3 separate regions of the Homo sapiens genome follow, and all the other regions are linked to region 3. Evidence: promoter capture Hi-C in 16 types of primary human blood cells and fetal thymus (Javierre and others, 2016). All regions are on one chromosome and are shown on one strand. The core of a region is centred on a gene start or on the middle of the fragment in contact, and the rest is flanking DNA. Distances in the headings are between cores, read along the strand shown. Region 1 overlaps TMEM39A (transmembrane protein 39A). Region 2 has its middle 51 kb from the start of TEX55. Region 3 holds the start of B4GALT4 (beta-1,4-galactosyltransferase 4).

Region 1 (4,116 bases), core at 121-2,620, 190 kb after region 3:
CGTTTTCTCACTCAAGGGCTTTCCACCTTCCCCATGTTCCTCCCAATCTGCCCCACCCTGCATTCCCCTACCATGGTATTTATAAGCATCATGCCCAGGGGCAAGTTCCCAAAACTTAATTGAAGTGTCCCTCAATAACAAACACCTGCAGAACCAGAAAGTCCATATACCCTCACAGGAACTGAGAAGGACAGAGGGAGAAAGAGATGCAAGTATCTTAAAAAAGATCTCCAATTCTTGTTTAGAATATGATCCCCTTTCAAAAGCAATGCACTGCACTATAGGCATTTTTACTATAAACAGTCCCCTGCAGGCACCTACTTTTCCCCACTTGCATTAGTCAGCTGGCCTTTCTTTTATAAGTATATACTTTTGCCTTGTACAGACAATTTCTGGAAGGCTGAAAGACCAAATAGATCATAACCGAAGGCATGAGTTCAATGGAATGTAGTGGGTTTCTATTGCTTTTTCCTTTTTTAACTTTTAAGCTTTTTTCCTTTTCATGGCATTTGTCTGACTTCCAAAGGGGAAGCTAAAGCCTTTGTAAAGAAACAATATATATGACAAATACCTAAAAATAAAACCACCGCACTATTAATATATTAAATGTCACTATGGATACACAGATACAATATATCTTAACAATACCACTAAACCAAACTCTTACAAAACAAAAATGGTAAGATGAAAAAGGAGTCTTAGATAACTGCCTGCTTGTTTCAAGTAATACTAGATTCGACAAATACCAATGTAACTAGAGAAACCAGCTAAGCTACTGAAACTGGAATAACAGTATATGATCTTCAAACTGCCCTTCAAAAGACATTTCCAAAGTACAGGGACCACTGTTACGCTAGTAGCAATAATTACCATGTAATAATTTCCTAGTATGTGCTACATGCTATGCTACATGCTTCCACATAGAGTGGCCTCCTAACACTTACCCCTAAGCTTATGTTTGAAAATAAATAAGCGGTACTTGCATAAAAGCGGGCATGAGATACATCTGAAGGCACTGCCACGTTGTAAGGCCCCATGGCTCTATATAAACATCTGCTGTGCCGCACCAGCACCCCTTGAGGCCATATTGTATTTTCTGACCAACTAAGGGAGAAAGAAATGCAATGTTAGCATATTGGCAATTACAGATAAGATAGCATCTGGCAAGGCCAGCTGTATTTTTATGGAAGGAATTAAATAATCAAGGCTTCATCTGCCTGAATTCTGAAAATACAGTAATTCCATGGTCAAACTGGAGTAGTTTTAGAAAGGATTTGTTACTTTAACTTCATTGCTATATAGTAAACAGAGGTTGCAAAGAAATATAGTTAACTCAGTGTCAAAGGACTTAAGAGGCTTAGAAGAATGAGCAGACATAAATGTGTAAGCCAGAAAACAGTGTGTAAGCAGGGTGACTGTCATCTCCATCCCAAGTGAGCAGAGTCTACTGGTGGAAATGCTAGAGGGAACAAACAAGAAGAGAAAGCTGATGGTAATAAGAATAGTGGAGAAATTAGCACATTGTCAATCTAGCATGACATTTACTGCAGAATTACATCCCAAAAAACTATAGGAAATCAGTTTGCTTATCACACAATTCAAATACCTCACAACTGTAAGAAGATATACAGTAGAACACAGCGATACATCTCACACACACACACAGACTTTTCACTGCTTTCATGGTTTATTTTTATAGAGGTTTCTCTGGGGGAAAAGAAGTTACAGAAGCAGCAGCTTCATTCTTTCCAGCATAATGGAGTTTGGGTGGGGACAGGGATCTTCAGGTTAAGCTTTTTAAAAAAAAAAAAAAAAATCTAAGTTAATTCATCTCTTCCTGATTTTGGAAAGGTTAGTTTCCTAGGATAAGAACTGGGAGGCAGTTTAGATATGTTATTAAAAAAAAAAAAAAAAATTCTAGCACCCTAAAGCTTTCCCAGTTCAGAAAATGTTCCACCGGCCTTGCTCACACTTACCAGCATTAAAGTGATGATACACCTCATGGCCATGTGCCATCAGTAGCCTGAAGATGTACAGTACTAGTACTGTGGATTGTATTTTCAATTTTTATTGAAATCTGTCCTTTGCCCACAGTCGGGTTTCTTTTCAGCCTGGCCCAATCTCTTTCAGTTCCTGGGCTTGAAGGCCTGTGCTAATCTGTATCAGACATCAAGGCAGATAATTGAAGGGAGAACTCTCAGGGGGAGAGGGAAAGGGAAGGTCACCTCAATCTGTCCCACTTAACTAGGGAAAAATTTCTAGATGAAATTTGTGAAATGTTCAAATTACAAAAGGGGGAAGATGAAGATGGTTTGGGTCTGAAAGAAAAGTATGATGAAGGACTCAGAAGTGACAGAATAAAACGGTCCTAATGTTAGCCATTTTGGATCATAGGAGCCATGTGGAGTAATGACTGATAAGGGGGACACAATGAGAAAAATTCTTCCAAAGAACTCAGTCAGGCACAGTTCTCACTTAAACACAGGAGAAGCAGGGAAATATTCAGTAGAGAGTTTAGAAAGAAAATAATAGTAAAAAAGTACAGGTAAGGAAAATTACTAGAACAAAACTGCATGTATTAGAAAGAAAAAATGAGAGAATCATATTCCAGCTAAGTGTGAGATGAATAGCTAGCAACTACTCAGCTGTGGCAATGAAGATGAGAAGACAAATCTTAAAGTCTTCTAAAAAGAAATAAAATATATGACTCTTTGAATTCGGGCAAAGGGGTAAGATTGAAAGAGAACGCCAAGTGCATTGCTTGGGAGACAAATTACACACACTAGAGTGACTGGGCAGCTGAAAGGTAGAACGCATTTAAGGAGCTGGGGTGGTGGTGGAAATGAGTTAATGTCCCTTGTATTCAGTTTAGCATGATGACAAGCATCCATGTAAGACAAAAACTAAAAATTAAATGTTCAAAGCCAAGAACAAGAATGACATACAAAGCAAATAAACATGATCAGCAGCATGTAGAAAGTGTTACATGGTTTTACCCTCTAGCTTACTCACATGTGCTGTGGAGCATTGCTGTAGGACCCATGTTCCAACTTCTGCCACTTGCCCAGGTGAGCAGCTGATTTATGTAGCAAATCACAGTATTTGGATGGCAACAGTTGCGTGGTGAGCATGACAAAAGCATTGATCCACACCATAATGAGGTGCTCACATGACCAGCGCATGTCATAGTACTGGGTACTCTGGAAGAGATCAGAAGAGAGAGAAATGATCCATGCACTGGTAAAAAGAGGCAGGGATGGGTTGGTGTACATATGCCCTGCAGACAAATGCCACACTGAGTCACACATGCACTGGTGGTCCTGCTGTCCGTGCAGAAAAGTTCAAGAGCAGAGTCCTCCACAATCCTTCAACCTGACTTTCTGGCTGTATGAGTTAGGGATGGGAGGGAGAGGCAATTATATTTTAAGTGTCTCCTTTCTAGAAGAACTGAGTGTTCTCTGAAGGACCATTCCAGCTGCAGAAGTACTTCTGAATGGGTGAAGAAAGGGCACTAAAATGTACCAAAAGATTTTGGGCCCAAGTGACATCCAGACCATTTTTCTTTTCTATTAAAGTAAACTGAAGTTTAGATAAGGGCTAGATTAAATTCAAGGAAACTCCTGATAACCATGTTAAGATCAACCACAGTAGGCTGAGTTTTACTGAAACCTTGGTCCTCTTAAGCTACTACATACTGATTCTATTATAAGTACATTTTGATTCTCCCCAGAAACTAAAAATACTTAAAAAAAAAAAAAAAAAGAAAAAAAGAGGGAACCACCACGGGTGCATCACATATATGGAAATACCTATCCGCCAACCAGGAGCGGTATTAGTGCACTCCAGATGCAGCCGAACTCCACCATCCAGGCTGCCAAAGGGGAGACAGAGAAAAGGGGGATTAAACAAGAAATACCCAGTTTATGTAATTCACACACAAATCCAGGAAGCACATAAAAGTAAGATAACCACTTACCTTCACAAAACACAGGGGGAGAAATGCAACATAGTAGGCACTGAAGAGGGAGTTGAAGAGAACCTCCTTGATTCTGTGGTTGAAATCTGCTTTCAGACATTCTACTTCATTGCGAATGAGGTCTGGAGATAGGGGACAAC
Region 2 (4,236 bases), core at 505-3,004, 150 kb before region 3:
TACAAGTTTGTAGCATAGGAGCAATAGGCTAGGTGTTTAGTAGGGCTATACCATCTAGGTTTGTGTGAGCATATGGCCTAGGTGTATGGTAGACTATCCCATCGAGGTTTGTGTCAGTACACTGTATGATGTTTGCACAATGACAAAATTATCTAACAATGCATTTTTCAGGGAGTACCCCTGTCATTAAGTAACACATGATTGTATATTAAGATATCAACACACACAAAAAAATAAACACAAAGGTATATTTAAAGTGTGAATAACAGAAAATGCCCTATCGAACAATGCACACCCTGTGTTAACTCACAGAAGACACTAAAGATTGCTGAGCTACGTCCGCCTTCAACACTTCTGTATTTTACCTTCAATCATTAGCACTGTACTTTTTTGGACACTTCCCAGGGATTACACTGCATCAGCTTCATATCAATGGAATGAGCTCTGACCCAAACACACTACCATGGAGAACTCCCCGAAGAAGCTGCTGGCCATTTACACACATGGGCTTCTGAGACCCGTTTTTTTTTTTTTAAACCTGACCGTTAAACTTACTCTGGTTGAAAACACTTCTTAGGAAAAATTTATGTCAGTAAATGCCTGTACCCAGCCACATTTTAGGACGACAAATCTTTAATAACCACGAGGTATCTTCAACGTCAATACCGAAAGCAAAGTATTGTCCTCCACATTAATTTGGGGCTCAGCAGCAGTTTACTTCCCTCTACCTTCCAGAAAGTTCACTAGATATTTTCATAAAGCTTTGACAGTCAAAAAGCTCAGTTCCTTTTCTTCATCAGAGGTTGTTTCAGGGATCTGACATCATCAGAGGTAAAGACAGGTCCCTAATGCCAGTAAACCATTTGCCTTTGAGCTTTCTCAGTGTAGGGTCTATGGTTTATTCAACTCTCTGACTCTTGTACCCAACTCATACTGTGGCACAGATAGTAGACCCAAAAGAAGGCTTAACTTGAAGTGAATATATGGATAATTTATCATGAGAAATAGAATATCCAAGAGTATTTACACATCTCAGCTAATCAACATGAGCACTTCTAAGGGAGAAATCCAATTAAGATCAGAAGATAGCCTAGATACAATCAGAAAATATGATCTTAAGAGATTTTAAGAGACATTTTCGTAAAGGTGCAGAATCTCGGTAAATCACCTCATGAGGTATAACATGTAGCAGGAATATATTGGCCGAGCTAATGATATTAATAGTTACAGTTGATAAAAATTTTAATATGGGTCCCAGGAAGATGAAGGAGTGGAAATATACCTTTTCCATTTTTTCAAGTCCCCACATAAAATGGAAAGAAGGACTACATAGCGAAGTAAAAAAAAAAAAAAAAAAAAAAAAAAAAGTTGTTGTTCAATTAGTAAATAAATATTACTCATTTTTTGGTTGTTGTACCAAAAAATGAGTAATATTCATTTACTAATTGAACAACAAGGTACTCCTATAAACCACAACATACACATGGGTAGTGGTGAACCACTAACAGCCAGAAAACCTGTATGGTATTAGCATTTCTTTGGTAGGAAAGATAACAAGCAATTAGGCACCTTCTGACAGATGTAACAACAGAATCCTTTTATCAGTTCATGTCTTCCAGGAAGGAAATCCTGAAAAAAGAGCTAGGAGTGCTACAGAAGGGTGGAACAAAGAGAGAAACTGCTGTGAGTGCAACCAAAATTGAAAAGAATAGGAAAAAAGGAACAAGAATATCTACACCAAAGTAGGGTAGGTGAACAAAGCCAGAAAATCCCAGAGAGCAACTCTATTTTTTTTTTTTTTTTTTAGACTGAGTTTCACTCTTGTCGCCCAGGCTGGAGTACAATGGCACAATCTCGGTTCACTGCAACCTCCGCCTCCCAGGTTCAAGCCATTCTCCTGCCTCAGCCTGCCGAGTAGCTGGGATTACAGGCTCCTGCCACCACACCCAGCTAATTTTTGTATTTTTAGTAGAGATGAGCTTTCACCACATTGGCCAGGCTGGTCTCGAACACCTGACCTCAGATGATCCAGCCGCCTCGGCCTCCCAAAGTGCTGGGATTACAGACGTGAGCCACCGAGCCTGGACAAGTCTCTATATTTTTAACACCACATAAAGGAAGGAGTTCTGTAATATTATGAAAAACTTTCCTGAAACCCACCCTATTCCAAAAGTTCAGGAAAAGTAATTTCACATTGAAAAATGAGCTAAAGAAAAGTATCAAAGTAAAAACTCAAACAAAGTTGGTATTTGAAAAATGACAATAAGAAGCTGAATCTAATACATACACACTTGGGATGGTTCATGCTCGTATCTGAGAATGTATAATCTTTGTTTTTGTTAATACCCTCTCCACACTAATAACCATAGACTATAAAAAATCTTGCACAAAGAGAATATACACAATATTTCCAAGAATTGAACAATGAACCAAGCAGACATACAAGGGTCAGAATTAACAAGAGAGCTAAAATATTCACAGGGTGGCCTTGCCTGACTCTGTTACTTGACATGGTACAGGTGACCTTATTGTCAGCCTAAAAATCCACATTCACTCTTCAAGTCTTAGCTAAAATATCAGTTTACTTTCCCAAGGCAGAGTACAGTCAGGGATTATGAAGGGTCTAGGATTTTACTCTACTTACAAGCTAACAAATTAACCTATTACTGTTCATGGATCCTGGCAGAAGACATGAGATTCCTAGATAGGGACCAAGGACTTCATTACTTACAGCAAAAGTAGTAGCCAAAGCTTCATGTTCATGCCAGTTCCTCACATCCTCCAAGTCTCACAGAAAAAAACAACATTGAGTTAGAGACCATGGCCTACACATGCAGTAGGTTGCTTTACAGGAGAGAAACACTAAACTTGGAGATTCAGCACTTTCACAGTTAGCAAGCCTATTCTTTGGGGGAAGAAGTTACCTAAACCCTCAAGGTTGCATACTGCAAACCCAACCCTGAGAATGGCTTAGGTAGAGATAAATCAGAAGCTTTCATTCTTGGTATACCCAGAAGGAGTATATGGGGATACTCAGGGCCCATGGAAGATTGCATCTTATAAACTTCTTTATTTTTTACTTAGCTTATATCATGTTCTAACTATCCACTTGCATGTCCTTCTTTTCAAGTATACTTAGAATTCCTTAAGGATGAAAACTGTTTTATTTATTTATTTATTTATTTATATTTAACTCCAGCAACTACCTAGCACAGTGTTTAGTACTTAGTAGAAACTCTAAGAAAACAATGGATGTATTGAGTAAACTCTATCATGGTTACAGTGACTTGGCTTTCAAGCACTCTTCTTGATGGGAGGGTACCTACTGGTGGGCATACTCACCCTCAAGTCTTTATTAACTGGTCTACCCCTTATGGCCCAGGCTTTTGGACATACATGTGGAAGTGGGAAACATGGCTCTGACTTCAAGTAGAATATATATATACACACACACATATACATACATATATATAATGCACACACATATATACATGTGTATATATACACACATATACAGCCATATACATATATATGGTTATAAATTCTTAAAATGAAATGCAATCTATATTAATAATAATACAGTCCAGAAATGCCGAGGAATCTTCAAATGGAGAAAAGCAACTGAACTACACTACTTCATCCTGTCTGAGACTCTTTCCACTCCTCTGAATCTTCTTGCAGATTACTAATGCCTTCATCATATTTGCCTCTAGGTTGTGAAGTTGTGCTACTTTGTATTTAACTCTCTACCCGATGCTGTGAAAGTGCACCTTTTCTTTATGTCCAGTGGCACAGTGGGAAAAGACTAGAAATTCAAACATGACTTTACTAAATGCCAAGGCGTATCAAAGGGGAAACAAACAATAACACAGACCTTTATTGGCTTATACAAATAGTAACTTTCTCTCTCTTGCAGGCCCAATTTCATCTTTTAGAGCCTTAGGCAAAAAGGGTGGCCAAGAGTTTCTAGCTTTTAAGACACTGAGCTCTACTTCTTGTAATGCATACCATCCCTTCTTCTGGACTAGAAGTTCCCATGTTTGTAAGAAAAAATTTTGTTATAACGGCTCTTTCTCATACTTTTGGTACCAAGTTTTTCTCATGCTGCCATCTTGATTATTCTTCCACATCTCTCTTCTACTTTTAAGATTTATTACACTGGATCCACCTAGATAATCCAGGATAATCTCCTATTTTAAAGTCAGATGGTTAGTGAACTTAATTTCATCTACAACC
Region 3 (4,205 bases), core at 1-2,500:
TCTATCCACTTCCCCTTAGATTATGTAGTCAAACAGTTCAATCCAGGTCAGTACTTTTTCACAACGTATGTTTTCAATCTGATCAAAGCTATAGGTAGACGAAAGTTATTGCAATTTCATGGGGTTTACAATTTCCATAAAGAACAAACCTGCTCTAGAAGACAAAATTCCAAAAACTTCTGAACTATATCCAATCAAGCATTATCTCCTCTCCCAAGAGAGACCTTCCAGCACTCCCCGCCTGGGTCTCGGGAATAGCCCTCCCTTCTGAATCCCAGTTTCTCAATCCGGACCCTGAATCCTATTCATCCTGATCTCTCCTTGATTTTCTTGCATCTTAAAGGTGTTATTTTCCTTTCTTTAAAAATTTAAAAAAAAAAAAAAAAGCCACAACTCGCCTCCACGCTCAGATTACCATTTTCTTTTTCCTCCTTTTCATCACCAAACGGCTGAGGAGGTCTACCAGTACCCTCACCACCGCCACGTCCCCATCCCTCACCCACTCTGGAACACTTTGCAACAGTGTGCACACCCACCCACTGTTGATAACTACTCTCCTAAGGCTACCAACCCATAGGCCTCTCCTCGATGCAGAGTCCTTTGGACTTTGTCTGTTTTTTTTCAAACCAAGAATTAACAGCCCTTATCTAATGGAAGACAGAACATCAAGGGATACAGATCAACAAACACTGGATGGCTGTCTCCGAAGTCTTTTATAATCCAGGTGACCAACCCCTTTGGAGAAAGGTCAAAGGTCGCCGGCCCCTCGCAGGACTGGGGCTGGTGTCAGCTGATCAGTTTCCCCGTTGAAACGCTGGAGAAGGAGGGTTTCCAGGAAGAAGGGGCTTTTTCAGGTTGATGCACCCGGCGGAGAAGTGCTGGGGGCGACCCCGGAATCGTGACCTGGGGTATGAATGAGCCCTGGATTTTTTCCTACCCGGCAGCACCTCGTCTGGCTCCCCCGGCCCGCAGCAGAGGCGGCGCCGCGCGGAACGCCAGCACCTGAGCCGGTGCCTCCCGCCAGGCTCGGCCTCCGTAGGCCCCCGGCCCGGCCCACCGCTCCGGCTGAGGCGGGACTGCCCCACGGACGCCGCCACGTCATCCCCACGCCCGCCCCGCTACAGCCCTGGGACTGACCCCGGCCGTCGCCCGGCTACCCTCGCACGGCGCCCGTGTCCAGGGAACTGCATTTCCCGGGCGCCGGCGGAGCCAGCGTACTCACCCCGGAGGCGGCCGCGGCGAGCTAGCACTGCCCGCGGAGAGGGGAGAACGCGGAAAGCAGCTCGGGGACCGCCCCAGCCGCCCGGGAGGCGGCTCTTGAGTACGAGCTCCGCCTCCCGCCTTGGCCGGAGAGGCTGGTCCGCCCGGCTCTGCACGCGCCTGGCGCTCCACCCCCGCCAAATCGACCACACCGGGCGCTGGAAGGAGCACCGGGAGGGAAACGGAGGGTTGACGCCTCGGCCTCTGGGTGGCTTTAAAACCCTGTGCCAATAGTAGACTGGGTGCTGAGCGCTTCCCAAATTCCATCCCCTTAAATACTCACAAAGCAGTAGGAAAGAGATAGGGACCCTTCCATTTTACAGAGTGGGAAACTGAGACTTTAGAGAGGCTAATAAACTTAATCACCCTGCGAGATTTCAGCCCTCTCAACTGCAAAAATGATAATAATAATAATAATATTTTTCCCATGTTGCAGGTCTGAGAATATTAAATGATTTTTTTAAATCCGTATTTCTTCAAAGATATTATTACAGAAAGCAAAGACAATTATATTTACACTAAAGATTTGAGTGAAAAATTATGGTAGGCTCTGTTTAGGCAGTCAGGATAGCTAGATTCTCTAATGCAGTCTCCCACTGCACTCACGGGAAAGTAGTAGATTCTCCAAGAACCACACATCCACTCCACCCAAAAAGGAACAAACCATAGCTAGAGCCAGTGCTGGGCTCATTAAGCTTCATAGCAGGAAATCTGAGGCTATACTGAGGCCGCATAGGCCCAATGTAGGCCCTTGGAAGCTGGAAAAGAGGGCCACCTAGTGGCAGTTGAGGATAGGTCAGTGAAATAGGTCAACACTGCTCCTGAACAAGGTCCAGTGTGAAACTTATTTTTTTGTGTTCCCTTTGTAACATGCTGTAAGGGTGTATAACCACATTTAGTGAAAAAGGACATTACTGGATTTCATCCAGTGGCGTTATACAATCAGTTACTTATACCCACATAGTCCCCAGGTCTTGAGCATATGATGCCTGGAAGCATAATATATACCTTTTGCAAGAATCACTCAGCTTTTCCCCTCCCCCTCCCCCTCTCTGTCTCCCTCCCCATCTCCCTCCCCCCTTTGCACGGTCCTCGTCTCCCCTTTGCATGGTCTCCCTCTGATGCCGAGCCGAGGCTGGACTGTACTGCCGCCATCTCGGCTCACGGCAGCCTCCCTGCCTGATTCCCCTGCCTCAGCCTGCCGAGTGCCTGGGATTGCAGGCGCGCACCGCCACACCTGACTGGTTTTCGTATTTTTTGGTGGAGACGGGGTTTCGCCGAGTTGGCCGGGCTGGTCTCCAGCTCCTGACCGCGAGTGGTCTGCCAGCCTCGGCCTCCCGAGGTGCCGGGATTGCAGACGGAGTCTCGCTCACTCAGTGCTCAATGTTGCCCAGGCTGGAGTGCAGTGGCTTGATCTCGGATCGCTACAACCTCCACCTCCCAGCCGCCTGCCTTGGCCTCCCAAAGTGCCGAGATTGCAGCCTCTGCCCTGCTGCCACGCCGTATAGGAAGTGAGGAGCGTCTCTGCCTGGCCGCCCATCATCTGGGATGTGGGGAGCCCCTCTGCCCAGCCGCCCAGTCTGGAAAGTGAGGAGCGCTTCTTCCCGGCCGCCACCCCGTCTAGGAAGTGAGGAGCGTCTCTGCCTGGCCGCCCATCATCTGGGATGTGGGGAGCGCCTCTGCCCCACCACCCCGTCTGAGAGGTGAAGAATGCCTCTGCCCGGCGGCGACCCGTCTAGGAACTGAGGAGTGTCTCTGCCCCGCCGCCACCCCGTCTGGGAGGTGAGGAGCGTCTCTGACTGGCCGCCCTGTCTGAGAAGTGAGGAGCCCCTCCGCCGGGCAGCTGCCTGGTCCGGGAGGTGGGGGGCAGCCGCCCAGCCAGCCGCCCCGCCCGGGAGGTGGGGGGGCAGCCCCCGCCTGGCCAGCCGCCCCGCCCGGCAAGTGGGGGGCAGCCCCCGCCCGGCCAGCCGCCCCGTCCGGGAGGTGGGGGGCGCCTCTGCCCAGCCGCCGCCCCGTCTGGGAGGTGGGGGCCCCTCTGCCCGGCCGCCGCCCCGTCTGGGAGGTGGGGGGCCCCTCTGCCCGGCAGCCCCGTCTGGGAAGTGAGGAGCCCCTCTGCCCGGCCACCACCCTGTCTGGGAGGTGTACCCAACAGCTCATTGAGAACGGGCCATGATGACGATGGCGGTTTTGTCCAATAGAAAAGGGGGAAATGTGGGGAAAAGAAAGAGAGATCAGATTGTTATTGTGTCTGTGTAGAAAGAAGTTGACATAGGAGACTCCATTTTGTTCTGTACTAGGAAAAATTCTTCTGCCTTGGGATGCTGTTAATCTATAACCTTACCCCCAACCCCCTGCTCTCTGAAACATGTGCTGTGTCCACTAAGGGTTAAATGGATTAAGGGCAGTGCAAGATGTGCTTTGTTAAACAGATGCTTGAAGGCAGCGTGCTCGCTAAGAGTCATCACCACTCCCTAATCTCAACTACCCAGGGACACAAACACTGCGGAAGGCGGCAGGGCCCTCTGCCTAGGAAAACCAGAGACCTTTGTTCACATGTTTATCTGCTGACCTTCCCTCCACTATTGTCCTATGACCCTGCCAAATCCCCCTCTCCGAGAAACACCCAAGAATGATCAATAAATACTAAAAAAAAAATAAATTTAAAAAAAAAAAAGAGAATGTAGGCCAACAATAAGCCACAGGATAACATCTCTGTCTGCCCAAATCACATTATGCTGAGGAAGTTTAATAATAAAGGAGAATAATAAAGGAGCCAAGCAAGTTAATCTAAAAAAAAAAAAAAAAAAGAATCACTCAGCTTTTCTATATTTGGTAGCTGGTAGGTTATTAATTGGAGAAGTTGGGTTATTGCTTTCAGTAAGTGTAGGAAAGCAAGTAGCAGTGATATCTACAAAATTAAAGATAGCTTTCCAATCTGCTTTTGA

The links. Contacts are between HindIII fragments. The CHiCAGO score rates a contact against its expected background, and 5 or more counts as called.
Region 1: a contact is called between a fragment that was not itself captured here and the fragment with the promoter of B4GALT4 in region 3, in 1 of 17 cell types (activated CD4 T cells). The highest score is 5.7, in activated CD4 T cells.
Region 2: a contact is called between a fragment that was not itself captured here and the fragment with the promoter of B4GALT4 in region 3, in 1 of 17 cell types (naive CD4 T cells). The highest score is 5.7, in naive CD4 T cells.

Annotation. Positions count from the first base shown.
Region 1 is chr3:119,433,779-119,437,894 of GRCh38, forward strand. It overlaps TMEM39A (transmembrane protein 39A), which reads right to left. Exons shown (of 9, transcript NM_018266.3): 6 at 3,977-4,116; 7 at 3,013-3,200; 8 at 984-1,104. Among named protein-coding and RNA genes, the nearest start is that of TMEM39A, 28 kb to the right of the region's middle. The HindIII fragment of the contact is 842 bases long and covers 950-1,791 here.
Region 2 is chr3:119,092,885-119,097,120 of GRCh38, forward strand. It overlaps a transcript of IGSF11 not described here. Among named protein-coding and RNA genes, the nearest start is that of TEX55, 51 kb to the right of the region's middle. The HindIII fragment of the contact is 1,990 bases long and covers 760-2,749 here.
Region 3 is chr3:119,239,628-119,243,832 of GRCh38, forward strand. It overlaps B4GALT4 (beta-1,4-galactosyltransferase 4), which reads right to left and starts at 1,251. Exons shown (of 8, transcript NM_003778.4): 1 at 1,223-1,251. The region is part of intron 3 of B4GALT4-AS1 (B4GALT4 antisense RNA 1); the gene reads left to right. RefSeq lists silencers at 938-1,417, 2,068-2,117. The HindIII fragment of the contact is 11,429 bases long and covers 1-1,953 here.